2 separate regions of the Homo sapiens genome follow, and region 2 is linked to region 1. Evidence: promoter capture Hi-C in human tissues and cell types (Jung and others, 2019). All regions are on one chromosome and are shown on one strand. The core of a region is centred on a gene start or on the middle of the fragment in contact, and the rest is flanking DNA. Distances in the headings are between cores, read along the strand shown.

Region 1 (3,647 bases), core at 138-2,637:
TGCTCAGAGCTCCCCTCCTCTTCCCAGACAACCCAGACCCTTGGGAGACATGCCCAGGAGAGCCACTGGAGGGAGGCAGGGAGGTGGCACCGCGTGGCATCACCAGACAACAGCACCAAGAGGAAGATGGCAGCATCAAGTACAGATGCCAAGAGCCACGCAGCCCAAGGTCCAGCCCGGGAGTGGCTCGGCCCGCATTGCCCCACCACTGCCAGGCAGACGGGCCAGAGGCGCCCGGGGCCCAGCCCCCTCGGCCGCCTCCTCCACCACCCCAAGGCCCTCAGCCAACTCTCCCCAGGCTCCAACTCCTCCCCTCACTTTGCTCAGCTCAAGGGAGCCAGGGAAAGAGACACAGGTGCTCTCAGTGCCTTGAACCCCCTGTCCCAGCTGTCGCCTGCACGCCCTCCACCCCAGCCAGGTCGGAGCGCACAGCTCTGCCAGTCCTCACTGAAGAGAATCTAAATCAGCTCCCCTCCCCCTCCGCCCCAGCCCCCTCCCCCATCACGCGCCCATTGCAGGTCTCTAGAGTTTCTCCCTCACTTCCCACTCGGATGAACTAGGGTGGGATGGGTGGGAGCCCCATTCTCCCCGGGAAAGAGGATCATTTCTGATAGGACGCTGGTTCCCCCAAGCAAGGCGGTGTGCAGGGTGGGGGGGTGTGGTGGTGGCCCGAGTCCAGTGCAGGGGCAGGGGGCAGTCGAGGCAGATGGCAGTGAGGAAAGGGGGAGGGGGCTTGGTGGGATGCCAGGCTGAGCCGGGATGGGGGGCTGCAGCCGGGGAACAGAGGCGCTGGGAGAAGCGGAGGGTGACGAGGTGTAGGGGAGACGCGCCAGGCTGGGAAGGGGCTGTCATCCCTGCAGGGGACAGAGGCAGGGCTGGGAGTTGCACGGGGAGGGGGAGGACCAGAGCGGGAGGACCGCGAGCCCGGGGAAGGGATGCGGAGGGAGGGAGACGGACCGGGGTGAAGACTGGAGGAACTACGGGAGCAGAGCGGTGGGGGGTTCGGCGGCGAATCTGGAGACGCAGGGACCGAAGTGCCAGGGACCGGGCTGGCGGGAGGCGGGAGCGGGGAGGAGGGCGCGGGGGCGGGGGCCGGGGCAGGGGTGCGGGGCCGCGGCCCCCGAGGGCAGGAGCGGCGGAGACGTCAGAAGTCGGGGTGCGGGAAGGGCCAGCGCGGAGGGGACTCGGGGGCGCGGGGGCAGCGCAGGGAGCGGGCCGGGGGCGCCGCGGGGGGCCGCTGCCCTTACCTGGTCGGCTCCGCACTCCGGGGGCTGAGCCGGGGGCCGGGCGCTGCCGGGCCGGCCGCGGGGCTGCTGTTGGCCGTTTTTCCTCTTCCGCAGCAGCCGTGGCGGCTCCAGCCCGATCCGCCCGCAGCTGAAGGCAGTCTGTGTCCGGCTGCGAGCGAGCCCGGCGCGGGGAGCGCGGGAGGAGCGCAGCGAGGCGCGGGGCGCCGCCCGGCGGGCAGCTGGGGAACTGCTGCGGCCCCGCGCACGGCCGGCCGGGGGGGCGCCCCTTCGGGGCCGGGCCGGAGCCCCGCGGGCAGCTGCACGCGCCCCCCAGCGCCCCTCGGAGCGTCGCCCGGGAGCCCAGGCGCGGGGGCGGCGGGGGCGGCGGGAACGGCGGGGGCTGCTGCGGGCAGGGCGGGCGCGGGTCCGCGCGGCCGGGGGCAAACTTGCGGCTGCCCGGGGGCCCGGGGCCGAGCGAGAGGCGCCCGGCTGGGGAGCGGCGCCCGGCAGAGGCTAGGGGCGCGCGGCCAAGCGGGCTCTGCGAGGTACGGACCTCAGGTGGGGAACCCGGCGCAGCCCGCACACTCCACCGCCCTGCGCAAAGGGGCAGCCCGCCCCGGCCCCGAGGAGTTATTAGCCCGGCGGCTTCAGCGAGCAAGGGGCGCCCCCTGGTGGCATTCGGGAAACAGCGCGGGGGACGAGCGTGCCCCGTTAGAAGAGACTGCGGCCTCAGTGGTGCGGAAGATGGAGAGGTGGAGGTTTCATGGGACGAGACAAGAGCACCTTGTTCAGGAGACTGAAGAGCAACAGCTTGCATGGAGTCATTCCAGAGCACTGTTGTATACATACCAACATCTTGGGAGGATCTCATGTTACGCATGAAGATCCTGAGGCTAGGAGAGGTGAAGGGACCAGGCCAAGAACACACGGGGAGCAAGTGGCAGGACCCAGGAGGCAACCCCGCTTTCTGACGCGCGGTTCATTTCAGTACACCGTGTGGTTCATCCTAATACAACAGAGTTGCCCTTAGGAGGAGGCTGGGTGAAGAGGGAGTCCTGGGGGAATAGGAGGGAGGGCAAGGGACACGTGACCCCCTCAAACCTATTAGCTCCCTCTTATCCAACCCGCAGAGTCTCTGTCTTGGGCAGACCACCAAACTGATCACACCGGCCCTCTCACCTTCAATGGCCTGTATCCCCACACCCAACCACCAGCACTCCCACAATCTCATTAAGCTCTCTGTGAAGGGTTTGTTCACAGACGTCCTTGGTCAGGTCTCACGCATGAGGCATACTATCGGGACTATAGACTGTTCTGGACGTTGCATTCCCCGGGGAGGGCTGGCTGGCTAGCCTGGGCGCGTACTGGGCCTCCTGCTTCAGGAGTCGTGCCTATCCCTCCCCCAGCTCCACACACTGGCTGGATGAATGCCATATGCGAACAGGGCTCCATTCCTCCAGCCAGACATTATTTAGCACCTACTGTTTGCCAAGACTATACCGCTTACACAAGTGTGATTCCCAATAATCAACTTTGCAAGGTAGGTGTTGAGGTGACACTAGTCCCATTTTACAGAGGATGTTAAACCTGTTAAGGTTTAAGAGCACCTGTAAGCCAGTGACACAAAACTAATTTCTAATTCCAACTCTATTCCCCCACTCTGGAACCCCCTCTCTTGTGCAAAATGGACGGAACAGCAGCATAAGCCTAGCAGAAAGTGTACGGGGCTGGGAGGAGGGAGAGGCATCCCTGTGATCCCAGCAAGCGATTTCACTTCCCTGGACTTCAGTTCCCATAACTCTAAAAGTGAGGGAAGCAGACTAGATGATCTCTCAAGCCGCGCAAACTCTGAAATGCCAAGCATGGATCCCTGGCCCCTTTCACGGGAAGAATGCAAGATCAGCGAGACCAGAGAGGCTTATTAAGTGTTTGGAAAGAAAAATACTATATAAGTGAAATGCTTCATCATATTCTTTTGCCTGGTGATCTCATCCTATTAACCAGGGAAGCGGGGAGGAGCTTTTGGCAGGTCAGAGAGATTGCTGATGGCTCTGGAGATAGTCTTGGCTGTGGCCTCCTGAGGGCCCTGGTTTCTCCCCTTCTTGCAAGAATGGTTCTGACTTTCTTTTCCTTTCTTAAGGCCTCTGCCCCTAGAAGCAGGGAGTCCCTACCAGTCACAGGGTGGACAACAATGTCAGCGAAGTCTGCCGGTACAGAAGTCTGCTGTTAGCCTCAGCCTGGTTGCCCCCACCCACTCTCCTGTCTCCCCTTGCTGCAAGATGTTGAGTTCTTTGGGATACTTACTACTTGCTCTCCACCTTTTTTACTACTGAAAAAATTCAATTCCAGGCAAGCTGACTTCTCAAGCTCAGCTCCAGGGGTGGGAAGGTCAGTCCAGATCTTTTTTGGAAGCCACAGGGG
Region 2 (3,518 bases), core at 422-2,921, 34 kb before region 1:
CATCCACAGATGCCCAAGGCAAGGTCTCTGGCCTTTGGGAGCTCAAAATCTAAGATGCCAAGAGCCACGATAGAGGAGTGCCCAGGGTACCCTGGAGGCAGAGAGAAGGGTGAGTGTGTCCAGGACAGGCTCCCAGGAGAGGCACTGTGGAAGGAATGGCCACTGAGCTGGCTCCTGAGGATGAGTGGAGGGAAGAGAGGGAAGGGGACTTCAAGTCGAAGGGACTGTCCACGCAAAGGAACTGAGGCACACAAGACAGGAGAATGTGGAGGAAGCGCTGCCAGAGCCCAAGGGGCAGGGTGCCGGGGAGGTACGTGGAGCTCTGCATGCACGAGGCTTAAGCTGGACAGTCAGGCAATGCCAACCCCCCGACCTTGCTGTTCTTAAGCTGCGCTCAGCCCCAGAACCTGTTGGGATTAGAGAGGAAGCAAAGCCGTATTTGGTTTCTCTAGCAAAATTATGAATCATCATCTTGCATTTCCATTTCATGCCCAGTTCTGGGCCTGAAGTTCCCCACAAATTCCATCCTTACTCCTAGTAGCCACACAGTGGGAGGGGACTTCAGGAGGTGGGCGGAGCATGTGTGACTCAGGAACGGGAGTGACATACTAAATAACTCAAGGCTAATGAGGGAGCTGAGCCAGAAGCATGTCCCAGGTCCTCTCCACATACTGCACGTTCCCTAGACTCCATCCTTCACCTTGGACACACTCTGTGGGGCAAGACTCCCATGGGGATATGCTATGAGCAGCCCTCTCACAGTGCTGGACTCCCATGCGGACTGCATCCCCCTTCCTCTAGGTGGATCTCTAGGGAGAAAGAATCAGGCTGTTGCAGGGGCAGGCACAGAAACCATGTCGCCCTAGCCCAGCAGGTGCAGTCTCCACCACCTAGAAGGACACAGGCAGGCGCGGTCCCTTGAGAAGTCCTTTGCCATTCCAGAGAGAATCTTTCCCAACTGAAAAATGCCCCTGACCACTTTTCCGGACCAGATCTCATTTTGGCCCATCTCCCTCAAGGTGCAGTCCTGAGAACTAACCCAGGACTGCAAGGGAGACTGCAGGAGCAAACCCACAGCAACTGGGGGCGAACCAATTCAACAGGAACAGCAGCACCAACGCTGCAAGGGCTGGTTTGCAAGGAGGGTCCCTGCTGCTAAAATCTCCTGTCTCCTCCACACAGGGGTTCCCCCTTGGAGGATGCAGCCCTACAGAGAACGGCTGTACCTCAGGGCCAACACCTGACCCACCCACAAAGACCACGGATTCTTTGGTCATGGGCCACAGAGACACGAAGGGGAGAAACCGAGGGTACCCAGCCACACCGAGGGGCACCAACCCACAAAGCAGAAGTCAGGAGAGATGTGAAGCCATCTGGTCAGAGCAGGAAGGGTGGAGCCTGGGTGCCACCCTTGGCTCTGTCTGAAAACATGCAGGAAAGCACTCAGTGCACAGCACAGGCCTCCGCAGTTCTCAGTAACTCCTTCTCAGTCTTTATCAAGCCTGAGTTAAAGAACGTCTAGGTGTTGTTATCCAAAGATCCCTAAAACTGGTGCTCCCTACCTGACCATTATAATCAAGATTTCTGGATTCCAGGGCAGGTGAAACTCAATCAACAGTTCTCCTCCCTTTCATTCAAAATCCATTGCCACTGTTGTTTCACACAAGACAGAGGTAGTTAAGAGCCTGGGCCCTAGAGTCAAATGGTGCATATTAAAATCTCATCACTTCTTCGCTGTGTGACCTCTGCCAAGTTACTTAACGTCCCTGAGTCTGTTTTCCTCATACACAAAAGAATGGTTAATAATAATCGTACGTCAAAACACCTCGAATAGTGCTTACTACAATACGGCAATTACTCATTCCATGCCAGTTACTATTGTTATTGATAGTGGGCTACATGGTAGGATTGTTGGCAATTTCCACCCTCTTACATTTGCCTCACTGTATTTTTTAAACTCTCTTCAATGAGCACATATCACTTTATAACAAGAAAAAAATGTATCTTAGGAAAATAACCTTCAATTAAATTCACTTAATATAGTTTCAGCCAAATGAACACCCTTAACGACTAGAGATAAGGCAGTTTTGAGGGAAAGAGCTCCATTTCTGGTTTGACTACATAAGGACGTGTAGTAAGAGATGCACAAAAGGGCTCAAAGCTGTGGCTGAACAGTGGGAACCCTGCAGAGAGCCACAGGAAACCGGCCAGTGACCCCGCGGGCCAGGCCTGTATGTCCCCTGGTTTGTTCACAGCTGGCCTCTGGCCAGCTGTGAGGCCTTCAGTCAGCTGCGTAAGCTCCCTGCCTCAGTTTCCCCATTCACAAATTAGAGAAAGCGGGAACCCTGCAGCACACGGTTGTTGTGACAGTGGACCACACTGAGCGCACCCTGGGAGTCCGGGCTGTGCTCAACAAGCCTCAGGTCCCCTTGCCCCTAGGTCTTCAGTTTCATCTTATGGTCCCTTAGTGGAAAAGGACAAATATGGCTTCAATGAATCCACTGAAGAATCTCTGTTGATTCTTTCTAACCCTCCTTATCCAGCCTTAACCTCTCACATGTACATTAGGACCAGAGCTCTGATGACCCACAAGACACCTCCTTTCCATGTCCCCGTGGTAACTCAACCCTAGGAAACATCACAAGGTAGGGGGTGGAGGGACACAACTTCCTAATAACAGCTGTGCTGAAATGTCCAGGTTGAAAACAAATAGTACTCTTTAGCCTGTAATCCCAGCACTTTGGGAGGCCGAGGCAGGTGGATCACCTGAGGTCAGGAGCTCAAGACCAGCCTGGCCAACATGGTGAAACCCCGGCTCTACTAAAAGTAGAAAAATTAGCCAGATGTGGTGGCACATGCCTGTAATCCCAGCTACTCAGGAGGCTGAGACTAGAGAATCGCTTGAACCCTGGAGGCAGAGGATGCAGTGAGCCAAGATCATGCCACTGCACTCTAGCCTGGGTGACAGAGCAAGACTCCATCTCAAAAAAAAAAGTATAAAAATAGTATTATTTAACCACTTTGTTAAGGTATGATTGACATGTAAAAGACCATACATATTTAATGTATACAACTTGATGAGTTTGGGGACAAGTATACACTGGTGAAACTACTATCACCACCAAGGCCACAGACACATCCATCAGCTCCCACAGTTTCTCTCACCCTCTTTATAACTATTTTCATATGTCTATGGTAAGAACGCTTACTATCAGATCCATCCTCTCTGCAAATTCTAAGTATAGAACACAGTATTGTTAGCTATGGGCACTATGCAGCGCAGCTCGCCAGAACTGACTCGCCTTGCATAGCTGAAGCTTTGTGCCCTCTGACCAACAACTCATTTCCCCTCCCCACCAGCCCCTGACAACCATCATTCTACCCTCTGCTTCTGTGAGCTATTTTAGATTCCACATGTAAGTGAGATCATACAATATTTGTCTTTCTGTACCTGGCTTATTTCACTTAGCACACTGTCCTCCAGGTTCATCCACGTTTTTGCAAAGGTAGGATCTTCT

What was found. The method cuts DNA at HindIII sites, captures the fragments that hold promoters and counts their contacts. A contact is called where the count stands out against the background at its distance.
Region 2: a fragment that was not itself captured here is called in contact with the fragment with the promoter of GRIK4 in region 1 in 1 of the 25 tissues and cell types used here (dorsolateral prefrontal cortex).

The regions. Positions count from the first base shown.
Region 1 is chr11:120,509,488-120,513,134 of GRCh38, reverse strand. GRIK4 (glutamate ionotropic receptor kainate type subunit 4) reads right to left here and starts at 1,387. Exons shown (of 21, transcript NM_014619.5): 1 at 1,248-1,387. RefSeq lists silencers at 1,317-1,516, 1,697-1,776. The HindIII fragment of the contact is 7,551 bases long and covers 1-3,647 here.
Region 2 is chr11:120,543,815-120,547,332 of GRCh38, reverse strand. All of the region lies in intron 1 of GRIK4 (glutamate ionotropic receptor kainate type subunit 4), which reads right to left. Among named protein-coding and RNA genes, the nearest start is that of GRIK4, 34 kb to the right of the region's middle. The HindIII fragment of the contact is 8,132 bases long and covers 1-3,518 here.